Linked DNA regions of Homo sapiens: region 1 is linked to region 2. The links are contacts of gene promoters, found by promoter capture Hi-C in blood cells and fetal thymus (Javierre and others, 2016). All regions are on one chromosome and are shown on one strand. The core of a region is centred on a gene start or on the middle of the fragment in contact, and the rest is flanking DNA. Distances in the headings are between cores, read along the strand shown.

The links. The method cuts DNA at HindIII sites, captures the fragments that hold promoters and counts their contacts. A CHiCAGO score of 5 or more calls a contact.
Region 1: a contact is called between a fragment that was not itself captured here and the fragment with the promoter of SEMA4D in region 2, in 9 of 17 cell types (total CD8 T cells, neutrophils, non-activated CD4 T cells and 6 more). The highest score is 11.4, in total CD8 T cells.

What each region holds. Positions count from the first base shown.
Region 1 is chr9:89,321,761-89,328,239 of GRCh38, reverse strand. It overlaps SECISBP2 (SECIS binding protein 2), which reads right to left. Exons shown (of 17, transcript NM_024077.5): 3 at 2,564-2,813; 4 at 2,202-2,343. Among named protein-coding and RNA genes, the nearest start is that of SECISBP2, 6.5 kb to the right of the region's middle. The HindIII fragment of the contact is 1,161 bases long and covers 2,869-4,029 here.
Region 2 is chr9:89,496,467-89,502,503 of GRCh38, reverse strand. SEMA4D (semaphorin 4D) reads left to right here and starts at 4,391. Exons shown (of 16, transcript NM_001371194.2): 1 at 4,391-4,585. RefSeq lists silencers at 4,302-4,491, 4,922-5,071. The HindIII fragment of the contact is 2,547 bases long and covers 3,972-6,037 here.

The sequences.
Region 1 (6,479 bases), core at 2,200-4,699, 170 kb after region 2:
GCATATAAAAGTATAGTACATGCGATGATGTACTGTACATAATACTCGGTAATGACAATAAACAACTATGTCACTTGTTTATGTATTATACTTTTTATCTTTGGAGTATATACTCCCACTACTTACAAAAGAAAAATTTGGCCAGGGCAAGGTGGCTCACGCCTTAATCCCAGCACTTCGGGAGGCTGAGGCAGGCAGATGCAGCCACGAGTTCCAGACCAGCCTGGCCAACATGGTAAAACCCCAACTCTATTGAAAATACAAAAATTAGCTGGGTGTGGGGGCGCATGCCCCCTAGCTACTTGGGAGGCTGAGGCACAAGAATTGCTTGAACTTGGGAGGCAGAGGTTGCAGTGAGCCAAAATAGTGCCACTGCACTCCAGCCTGTGTAACACAGTGAGACTCTGTCTCAAAAAAAAAAAAAAAACACAAAACGACAAAAGAAAAACTTAAGTATAAAGCAGCTTCAGGCAGGTCCCTCAGGAGGGATTCCAGAATAAGGCATTGTTATCACAGGAGATGACAGCTCCACGCATGTTACTGTCCCTGAAGACCTTCCAGTGGGACAATATGTGGAGGTGGAAGACAGTGATACAGATGATTCTGACCCTGTACAGGCCTAGGCTAATGTGTGTGGTTGTGTCTTCGTTTTTAATTAAAAAGTGTAGAAAGTTAAAAAAAAATTAATAGAAAAAAGCTTATAGAGTAAGGATGTAAAGAAAGAAAATATTTTTGTCCAAGCCAAGTATTTTTGGTTTTTCTGCATGTTTGTGTTTTATTACAAAAGGTAAGTGTTATTACAAGAGTCAGAAAGTTAGAAAAATTAAAAATGTATAAAGTAAAAAAGTTACAGTAAGCTAAGGTTAATTATTGAAAAAAATACTTTTATAAATTTCATGTAGCCTAAGTGTACAATGTTTAGAACGTCTCCAACAGTGTACAGTAACACCCTAGGCCTTCACATTCACCCACCACTCAGTCATCGAATCACCCAGAGCAACTTCCAGTTCTGCCAGCTCCATTCATGGTAAGTGCCCTATACGGGTAAAACATTTTATATCTTTTTTTTTTTTTTGGAGACGGAGTCTCGCTCTGTCTCCCAGGCTGGAGTGCAGGGACGCTTGATCTCGGCTCACTGCAAGCTCCGCCTCCCGGGTTCATGCCATTCTCCTGCCTCAGCCTCCCGAGTAGCTGGAACTACAGGTGCCCGCCACCACGCCAGGCTAATATTTTGTATTTTCAGTTGAGACGGGGTTTCACCGTGTTAGCCAGGATGATCTTGATCTCCTGACCTCGTGATCCGCCCGTCTCGGACTCCCAAAGTGCTGGGATTACAGGCGTGAGCCACCGCTGTACCTTTTCTATATTTTGATACACAAATACTTACCACTATGTTACAACTGCCTACAATATTCAGTACAATAATATGGTCTAAAGGTTTATAACCTAGGAACAACAGGCTATATCATATAGCCTAGCTAGGTGGTTGGCTATACCATCTAGGTCTGTGTAAGTACACTCTAAATGTTCCCACAATGACGAAATCACCTAAGGGCACATTTCTCAGAATGTGTCCCCATCAGTAAGTGAGGCATGACTATAATTCTAAGGCTGATGAAATAGTTACCTTAACCTGATTGTGCAGCTGGGCATTTTAATTATTCTTTTTAGACATTTTATTGTATTGCAAATTTAAAGGGACTCTAATGAATTTTCTGTGCTAGTAAACTTTCCATCTTTCAGTTTGCTGGAATAAACTAGAGGGAAGCAGGTAGCATAAAACGCATAACCTCTTCCCCATCTTTCTCCTGAAATGCAATGGATAAGGTAGGCTGCAGCTACATGAAGCCACTCATTTAATTATAAGACCACAGTTACTACAGTTAATAAACGTCCCTTGTACCAGATGGTTTATGAGTGAAGTCAATGAAAAGAGAAAAATGTATATACCAAATAATACAAATTATAGGCACTTAAGATCCCACAATGCAACAGGTACCAAATAATAATCCCATCCCTGGGAAGAAATACCTCTAGAATTGCTCAGGAAGTCTGACGCCCTAAGCTGTGTCAGACCCAGGTCTCATTTCTTGGAGTAGTCACAATGAACAAGCCCATAGAAACAGCTGTATACATAGCAGGAATGTTTCTGGGGCACAAGGAGTAGGCTCGCATTATACTACATTGTTGGTTATTTTTACCTGATTTCAAACTATTCTCAGCGTAAATGGACAAATGATGTGAACCTCTAGCTGATTTTATCTCAGATGATATAGTTCCATCAGCCCTTTCACTGTCAAACTTTTGCTGATCATACGTTTTTTTCTCATCATAGGTTTTCTTCTGCAGGAAAGATTAAAAAGCAACATGAAATAAAACCACCACTATAAAAAAGGTTTAAAGCAGCAAAATATTAAGTATTCACAATTCAATCATTTTTTAAAAGGTTAAATACAAAAAAATACATGATACTTAAATATGATGTACAAATTTACCATTTCTTTACATTTTAAACATTAAAGCAACCAACTAAAGGACACAACAAAACAACATCACTACTCACCTTAAACAGAGCTTTCATTTCTTGTGGGAGAGGGCATGTGTTCTCATTTCGATGCTTCACTGTTTGAAAACCTCGGTAACAACTGGGTTGGTTATAAAGATACTGGGAGCCAGGCACTGAGTAAACATTCTGTGTGGAGTCAAGGGTATAAGGAGAATAGGCATATGGATGAAGAGTTATCTCAGAAGATAAATACTGAGGTGGAAAAGTTGAAGCTCCAAAGGCCATGTCTTCAGTATATATTTTCTGCCTAAGTAAAAAGTGTAAACTTTAGTTGCAGATTTCATACTGCAAACCAAGAAGCTTTTCTGTAATAAACTAATTCAAACTGAACATTTAATATTTCTGAGACCATTCACTCTAGCACTGGAATAATCCCTAATTAAAAGCCAAATAAAATCTCTGGGTGTTTCTTTCTCACCCTGCAAAGAAAGATGTTGACTCTATTTTTTCACTAATGAGCTGGAAGTCCGTAAGAAACATCAACAGAGCCAGAAGATGCTCCAGCAGCTTTTCACCCAATTGCTACCAAGTATTTGGGAAAGCCTCTCCCAGCAACCCTGGCCAAAATGCCCCTAAAGACCATTCTCTCTGCTGCGGGGAGACCCAACAGCCTGCAATGCCTCCACCAAGGCTCCTGCAAATGGTTTTCTCCAGCCCTTCCCTGCTCCAAGCCCACCATGACATCCTGCGCTTTGCTGACTAACAGGGTCAGAGCGCAAAGCAGACACCGCACGGCACCGTGGATGTTAACTACACACTTTACTAACAGATGGACACCAGCTTTGAAGGTTGCTATTGCCTCAATTTATCCCAAGCTGCTAGACTAAACCAAAATATAATTTAACACTAATTTTTCTTTTTTAGCCAATTTGATACAAGGCTACAGGTTTCAACCTTTTTCCCATGAAAGCTGATACAATGACAAAATGCTAAGCAACTGATTTAAAATACAAATAGTAACCTCCTCCTTCCAGCAAATGTTTCTGTTAATTTCCGGAGCTATTCCAAAATGTACTAGTACACTGAAAGGCAAAAAATCCAAACCTAGTCATGACACACCCTTTAAGACCTTCAAACTGCTACGCTGTCAGGAGATATGAGCATAAGCACCGCTTACTAGAAATCATATTTCTAATGCGCTGCAAGTAACAGACTACACTGAATAAGAAAGGGAGACTACAGGCTCTACCTATAATATAATAACGTTTACTGCTTTCACTTCTATCCAGTACTTAATCATATATTCTCTCATCTCACTGTTTACTATTTCATGATATGTTAACTTAGATTTTCTAAGATCTTTTACTTACAGGTAAGTAACTTTAACATGAAATATTCCTAATTAAAAATCAAATAAACCCCTTTTTACTGACCTTTGTCTGTCCAACAAAACAACTGGCCTAGCACTGCTCCAAACATACAGCACTGAGGACTAGCTCTTTGTAGAAAAGAGGCTCAAAGCTTCATCCCACTGCCTACATGTTCCTGTGAATTCTGTGCTGTATTTTGTTTGTAGTTGAGAAAAGCTAGTGGGGGGCAAGTGTCACTGAAGGTGGATAATCTGTTCTTCATAAAAGATGAGTTGACAGAAAAAAAAATGTGAAAAAGACTGTCCCAAGTCCAATAAATAGATAAATGAACAGACAAATGAAATGTAGCTAAAAAGGAAAGCAGGGACAGGTTCCATTGGTTTTGACGGCTGCTGTCATCCAGGAAATTTTCATCCAGGAGTCAGGAGACCTTGGTTGGGGTCCTAGCTCAATCACAATCCAGTTTTCTATTCTGGGTAAGTCATTTGGGTTTCTGTCCCCTCACTGGTCCTTCCTCCTCTGGAAAGTTGGTATTTTCCATTTCCATCCAGTGCAAACACAATTACATGCAGAAAACAACACAAAATACAAAACATCAAAGCAGTAACTCACAGCATCTGGCGTGGCTTCAAATGGCATGTCTGGGAAATTCCAGATGCCAGGAGTGGCCCAGATGACCCTAAACCCACAGTAACACACCTGTTTCTCATTCACTGTCCTAAGCTACCCCATCCATACTAAAATCAAACTGTCTGAGTAATTGTGCAATACCTGCTGGTCTCCTGGCTCCACTTCCCTTTGCCCCTTTCCCACCAACGGCTTCCAGGTCTCCCAGGACCTCCTTCTTGCCTCTCCCTCCAGGCACCCGTTGGGTCTGGCTTGACCATCACATGACTTGAAAAGCTCCCTGGCCTGGACTTTGCTCGCCTGGCTCTCACCTGCCCTCCAAGGCTCTATCTCTGTCTCTTTCCCTAGTGCAGTCTCCTCTACACCCTCCTTATCTCACCCATCTGACACATTCTGGGTCAGAACCTCTTATCTTTCTGCTTAGGACTTGACATAAATATAAACAATCCAGCACCTTCCCTAGTCCAGGCCTCCATCTCCAACTTTCAGGTCATTTCCACTTACTATTTCACTTTTTCCCAATTCAGCACGTATAAATCCCAAATTTAACATCCATTCCCCAAAACAGCCCCATTTACAACTTCTGTTCTCATGTATGATCCTACAATTATTTCCATGTATTCAACCGAATATTTTTGTAACATCTTTCCCACCAAAACCTGTACGGACAATCATGGGGCTCTTTTTTATTTCAACAGTTCTCTCATGTAGTTTCTTTACTATTTCCAGTGCCTAGAACCTGGTCAAAGCCTTCAAGACCCTCTTCTTTAAAAATCTTTCCAAAATTTAGGAGTGATTACAATGACCCCATTTAAGACACTACCAAAAGTTCCCTATTGCCTACCCAGCAAACCTAAAACTTTTCAGCTGTACTATGCAGGCTTCCAATCTACTGACAGCTTCCCCCCAAAATTATCACTTTATTCCTCTACTATCTCCCAAACATATCATGCACATGGTCCCTTCAGTCAGGCAACGACCCAAAGGGGATGCAGTTTCTCCTCCACCCACCGAGCCACGTGCTCAGCTGTACAATGTTGTATACCACTAGTTCTTCTCATAGCTGATCTGCTTTAACTCAAAAGCATCAATTGGTACTAAAATTTTCACAGTATATTGGCAGATGGTGAAAATGCTCAACTACCTCTTGTCAATAGCAGCAGCAATTTTGAAGAATAGCACGTTAATTCTGGTTCTGGTGCTACCTATTTGAATTAGCATGAACAAACATTCCTAGCTTCAGTTTCCCATGTGCAAAATAACATTACATCTGCCTGCCACCTCATGGATTGTAGTAACTATGAAAGAAGTGGAAGTATACAATAATACCCAAACAAAAGGCACACATCCTCATACACAGGTTGCACAGGATTTTTCACAAAGGATGTAACATGACAATGGACATTACTTGGAAGAAACTTATTTTGTTTGCATAGGCAAATTTGTTCATTACATCAGTAAATAATCAGTATTTTCCAAACATGGCAAATGTTATCTATCAGACTACTTCTAATTTCTTTGTCTTGTCCTATAACATAAATATGGAAGAGTCTGGTATGTTCATTTTCATCTCCATCACTTCAAAACTATGGAAGACTTTCAATAATTAATTCCAAATGAATAAATGAGCATCTTTGAGTGCACTGTGAAAGGTACTGGAGGAGGACAAATTCTGTAAAAGGTTACTATACCTTCTTTAAGGAAAGATGAGGGAAGGGGACATACAAAGTTGACTTAGGATGCTATGTAGTTGAACAAGTAAGAAGGAGGAAATAGTTGTTTCAGAAACTTCTATTCCTTTTGTCACAGCAGCAAGAGATCTCCATTTACATGTAATCTGACTATGGCAATGCAATTTTTAATCTATATTAGAACTGCTCAGATAATCAATTCTCAACCATGTGAAGTCTCATTATTTCATCCCCACTTTAAAGGATCTTTTCCTTTCTAACTCTTCCTCTTCAACTTAATGCCTT
Region 2 (6,037 bases), core at 3,142-5,641:
GGGATATTAGCTCTGCCCAGGGTGCATGGGTTTGTGTTGGAGGAAATGATGCCAGGGCAGAGCCTTGACACATAAGTGGGTGTCTGCCAGCCAGCCAGGGATGCGAAGAGGTCCATGGTCTGGCAGTTGGTGACAGCAGTCACCTTAAAGGTCAGAAAGGCATTGCTGGGGCAAGTTCACTTGCTGGGGCAAGTCTAATCCAGCAGACACCAGCACTGATTAGATCAATGGTCAGATGGGGCCACATCAGCATCCTGTACACTCCCCAGTATGACGAAGGATGGCTTGGTAAACCATTCTGCATGTTCAGTGATGTGGGAAGTGCTGCCATGAGTGTGTGCACCAAAAATGGATTACACCCCTTCACCAGATTTATCTAGCACTTAGTGGTTTGACAGTTGAACGCTGTGCAGGAGCACAGAGCAATGATAACATCTCAGCACGGCCTTCATTTCTATGCTTCTGCTGGTGTGACCCCACGTTTCCAAGTGTGGCTTTAACAAAAAGAGCTCTGTGGGTCCTGTGGGGGTCTCAGTGGCAGTAAGGACATATGAGGGTGCTAGAGGTGCCTGGGGATCTCAGAGCCTTCAAAATCCCTTTCGGCTTCCTTCATTGACATGTTCTAACAATCAGGGTGCCTGACAGAGACCGGTGTGGACTCTCTATTTTGGAGAGGCTGGCCAGGAAGGCCACACTCTTACCAGCCTTTTCTGGGGTGCGGGGAGGAACAGAGCTAGGAGTAGGAGTCACAGCATGGTCTTGGCAGCCACTGCATGGTAACAGTGGAGGTGTGGCTCACCCACGTCTCTGCAGAGTGTGGTCACATTCAAAGGACATCTCCCCGGACTTTTCTAGAAGCTGCTGGCAGGTCCCAGAGCCAACCTTCCCACAGTCCCTCAGAGGACCCCGTTTCTCCACTTGCTGTGCTGACTCTCTCTCTAAGCTTAGCCTGGACACTCTGCATGCCACTACAGGTGAGAGGCGGCAGGCCGACTCTTTCTGAAGACACCTCCTCCACTGCGTAAGGCTCCACACTGGGCGATCTGGAAACGGCTCCCAGCCCACTACGTGCCTGTTCCCTCCTGCACTGCAAAGTGGAAGCAGAGGATCCTCTCTCCTCATATCCACCTGGGCCGTGTTGGAAGCTGAGTATTATTTGTGCTGCCATACTTGAGTTTTTTTCTCATATGGGACTTAACTATTATCAATCCAGTTACTATGCTCATATGCATATAGATGGTGTCAACATTCTGGCTGGGAAATGCAGAGAAACTTTGCAAAGCATGGTCTCAGTATCCAAACACTTGGCATTTCTGGGGAAACTAGGAAATAGATTGGTTAATATGATCTTTGATATGCTTGAACTTAATATTGGAGGGGAAAGTAAGGGGGTGAGAGGTAAGGCAAGATTGGAGTTCATTTAGCTACTTTTATTTTTATTTTTTGAGACTGAGTTTTGCTCTGTCGCCCAAGCTGGAGTGCAGTGGTATATGATCTTGGCTCACTGCAACCTCCGCCTCCCGGGTTCAAGTGATTCTCCTGCCTCAGCCTCCTGAGTAGCTGGGATTACAGGTTTGTGCCACCATGCCCACCTAATTTTTGTATTTTTAGTAGAGACGGGGTTTCACCATGTTGGCAAGGCTGGTCTCGAACTCCTGACCTCAGGTGATCCGCCTGCCTCAGCCTCCCAAAGTGTTGGGATTACAGGCGTGAGCCACTGCACCCAGCCTGCTACTTTTATATCTATGTTTGAAATGTCCCACGACAGAGTGTGAAACAAGAATAAAAAGGCAAGCTTGGTCACTTTGGGAGACATAGGCAATCATGCTGAGAGAAGGGAACAGGGAAGAAGGTCAGAGAGGAGGGAAGAGGAAGACCTAATAATGGCATCCAAGTCCCGGTTCTAATGGTACTTGGGGCATCTTTGGATGCAAGTGAGCCAATAGTATGGGCTGAAGTTCTATCACTTACAACTAAGAGTCCTGTCTCCTTCATGAATGCAATAAACATGTTTGGGGGCAATTTTATATAAGCACGGTGCAAAGAAGCCCTTGTGTTCGCAGCCTGGGCATTGCGGAAAGCTTTTTGGAGTTTTTACTGAATTCTCTCATGTTCTTCTGTATGCATTAGGAAACAGGCTAGAGAGGACAGTATTCTGGAAGGTCATGATGCCAGAAGTGTGGGCCCCAGGACAGCCATGCAAAGTCTCTTCTTTGCCCTGGGCTGCCCTCTATTAGATTCTGAGCATGTGGGTCTAAAAGCCAGGAGAGAATTCAGCAGTTGTTGAGAAGCATACCCCTCTGCTGCTGGTCCCCTCCCTGCAGTGTGTTCCCAAGGTGGCCCCAGGCCTGTCTAGACGCTGGCTGTGAAGGGCACGCTCCTGTAGGGGCAGCCGGCTCTTCCACAGTGAGGTCTGTCAGAAAGCGCCCACGATAGGCAGGAATCCACTTTCTCATCTAATTTCCACCCATCTGTCCTCATTCTGCCCTTCATAACACCACAGAGTAATCCTTCTTCCCGGGACAGTTTTGCACATATTGGGGTTCTTCTGTCTTGTGCTCCACACATTGATTTTCTAGGCTGAAGACTCCCGGTGGGTCAACTCCCCTCCCACGGGATACTGCTGGCTGCCTTAGACACCAAGCAAGGGCATGGTATTCTAGATGTGTCTGACTAGTGAGGAATAAAAGAGAGTCCCCCCACCCCACCCCAATCAGTGCAATGCTTGCATGTGTAGATCCTAAGCGTGCATCCCTCCTTGGGTATAGAATGCTGTTAAACCAGTTCTGTCCTAATCCGTTCCCATTATGTTTCAATCCAAATGGGATGTGGAACATGGATTCATGGACCCCTACAATTGGAAAAGAGCTTGGAAAAGACTTCTCTAGTTTTTCCTGTAATAGTCACCAGCACTGAACCCGAGCACACGGTGCAGTGGGCTTTACCTGCCATTCTCTCTCCGTGCTCCCCAAACCCTCCAGGACGACCACACTGTCCTCATGTTGCAGGGTACAGAGGTTTGCTGAGGCCTGAGGTTATTTGGAAACTGCAGAGCTGTGAGTCAAGGGAGTCTATCAGATTCCAGGTCTGGATTCTTCAGCAAGAGGGTGGTGGCTGCCATGCCGTAGAGGGAGGAGGGGGTGCGTGCTCCACCCCACCCTGCTTGACACCAGCTTTGCCATCTTAGCCTTTGCTGGGCCGAAGCCCTATTCTCAGAGCTCCGGCACTGAACCACAGAAACCACAGGAGGCCCTAGAACGGAACTCTGAGACTGTTGGGCCTTTAACTCTGTGACTGTTGGGCCTGGGACTGGCTTCATTTGTAAACTCTGGCTCTCAGAGCCAGTGCTCAGCAGGAAAACAGCCTCAGGGCCCCTGCCCCTCAACAGCAGTCTGTAGTCCAGGGAGGTATCACCTGGCCTGGAGAGGGGCTCCCCAACTCCTCACATTTAGGGGAAATCTTAGCTGGTTCCGTAAGAAACTGTGTCCCCTTCTCAGGACTGTGTTCCTCAATAGGCCTCCCAGCCTGGCCAGTCACTGTGCGAGCCCTGTCACCTCTCCTGGGGGCAGAGGGAAGAGGTCTGGATGGAGCAGCACCATCTCTGAGGGCCCCCAGATCCCCAAACCCATGGGCTAGTCACAAACAAGTCTCACCAGCAGCCTCACAGGAGGACCATTTGCCATACAGAGTGGAAAATGATGAACGTTTGGCAAAAGGCTAGCACGGGGGTTCAGGGAAACCAAGACTCCAGGTGGTGCCAGCCCCTCCCCTGGGGAATGGGAGCAGCCTGGTGTGAAATATTCTTGCCCAAAGTCAGCAGCCAAGTGTTCTGGGTGCCACGTGCCTCACGCACACTGCAGGTCAGGTTCTCAGAAGAGCTGGCCCAGGGTCTGGGGGTGAAAAAAAACTGGGGGATTTGGGGGAGGCCTGGAAAGGGTGGGGTTCATCCAGGACCCCAGAAGGGGCAAGCTTGTCTATTGAGAGCTGGTGAGGAAGAGGGTGACAGGGCACCTCTTGGTCCTGGGAACGGGTGCTTGACTCAGCAGAGACCAACCCAGGGCTGAGGGACAACCCTCTGGGCCTGGCGGGGAGGCAAGAGAGATGGGAGGTGAGGAGGAAGGAGTGGGGAGCAAAAGTGGGGAGAAGGGGAGAGAGGTGGAAGAGTGTTGCGAAGGTGAAGAAAGAGGAGGAAAAAGAGAAGGGAGGAAAAGAAAGGTTGGGGGAGGGAAAGGAGGGAGGTGAGCAGGGGCGAGGAGGAGGGAGGAGGAAGGAGGAAGAAAGGGGCGGGGCCATAGGAGGGAAGAGAAGAAGGGGGAGAGGAAGGGGAAGGGAAAGGGGAGGAGGCGGGAAGGGAGGGGGAGCGGAGGAGGGGCCTGCGCGCCCGCCCCGCGCACTCCGTCCCCGCGCCGGCCTCAGCGCTCTCGCGCGCCGCAGCATCCCAGCCGCCGCTGCCGCCGCCGGGCCTCCCCGCCACCCCCTCCCCGGCCCGGCCGCCTCCCGCCGCTGCCGCCGCCGCCGCCGCCGCCATTCCTGGCGCCCGAACTCGCCCGGCCGGGAGCCGCCGCGGGCAGGACGCGCGCTGCAGGTAAGCGGCCGGGCTGGCGCGGGAGGGAGGGCGCGCGGGGCCGGGCAGGTGCGCTGGGGGCGGCCTGGACCCTCCGCGGAGCCCCCACTCCACACCCCTAGGCTCCTCACCGGACCCTCGGGGCCCTCCCCGAACCCCTGCAGGAGCCTCCTTCTGGGATCCCCGGACCCCTGGACTCCTTCCTGGATCCCCCCGGGGCCCCTCCTGGGACGCCTCCCAGAGACACCTACCCGGACCCCTCCGACCCCCTGGACCTCTCTGCTATCCCTCCCCGGCCTTCTCCCCTTCCCGGTTGCCTCCCCAGTCCCTGCGCGCAGGTGGCTCCTCTGGGCGCGGGGGAGCGGGGGCGCGCTGCATACCCGGGCCAGGGAGGGGGCGGTGCGCTCGGCCAGGCCCCGTCGCGCCCCGGCCCGCCCAGTCCGGCCCCGCCAGGTCAGGCCCCACTCCGGCCAGCCGGGCTCTGGCCGGGCCCCCGCGGGCTTCTATTTTGGTCGCGGAGGCCGCGGACCCTGTGCACTGGACCCGGCGCCGCGCACTCAGACAGGTGGGGCAGGTTGGGCCGCAGTGGTCAGGTCGCCGCCTTGGCAGTGAGTGCTGCAGGCCTCGGTTTCCTTTCGGGTTTTGGTTGCATTATTCTAGAACAGCCCAGGAGAACCACAAGCCTTAGCTTGGGCTGCACCTGTTGCAGCCGCCTAGTGAGCTGCAAGGGGCTGGCTCTACTGGGGTTATGCCAGTAAAAACGTGTAAAGGAGAGTTGAACTCGTGGTTGTCCTCTATTTTCTGGCTTAGTATTTTGGGGGGTAGGTGGGAGAGTGGGTGAATGGGAGTCTGTAAGTGGGCAGTTTGCGTCAAATGAGGCCTGGTGTCGAGGGCTGGGTCCTGCTTTCCGGAAGGTTTTCCACATGAAGTTGCTTTGCTTTTGTTTTGAAAACCTCACTCTGTGTTGAGCACATCCCAGGCTCGTGGGTGGCCAGGCCCCCGAAGGCCAAGCTGGACGTGGGGCCTGGGGCCAAGCATCTCACCCTGCTGTTCTGAGTCTTTTCAAATCCACCAGGCGCCACGGAACGGAAGTTTCCTTTCCTGGGGGTGACGTGACACCAGTGGCCTGTCACCTCATATGTGTCCTAGGCCTGGGGCCTGCCTGCTGGCTGCCCAGGCGAGGTTATTTGGGAATGTTTACTGTGTCCCAGAAACAGGCAGCTCTGGCCAGTGCAGGGGCAGGATTCTGGTAGAGATGATAATGCCCTGATTGTCATTTTGACAGTTGGTGTCTGCGTATATCATGTCTTGGTAGTCGTCAGCCAGAAGAAGAAAGCAGGCGGGCTCAGCATACCCACCAGGGAGGCTGGGGTGGGAAGATGAGGGATGCACTGGCCTGTTTCTGTGAGCAAAGACTGCCCTCCCATAAGGCCAGACCTTCAGACTGAGAAGAGTGTACGTGGTACACTCAGC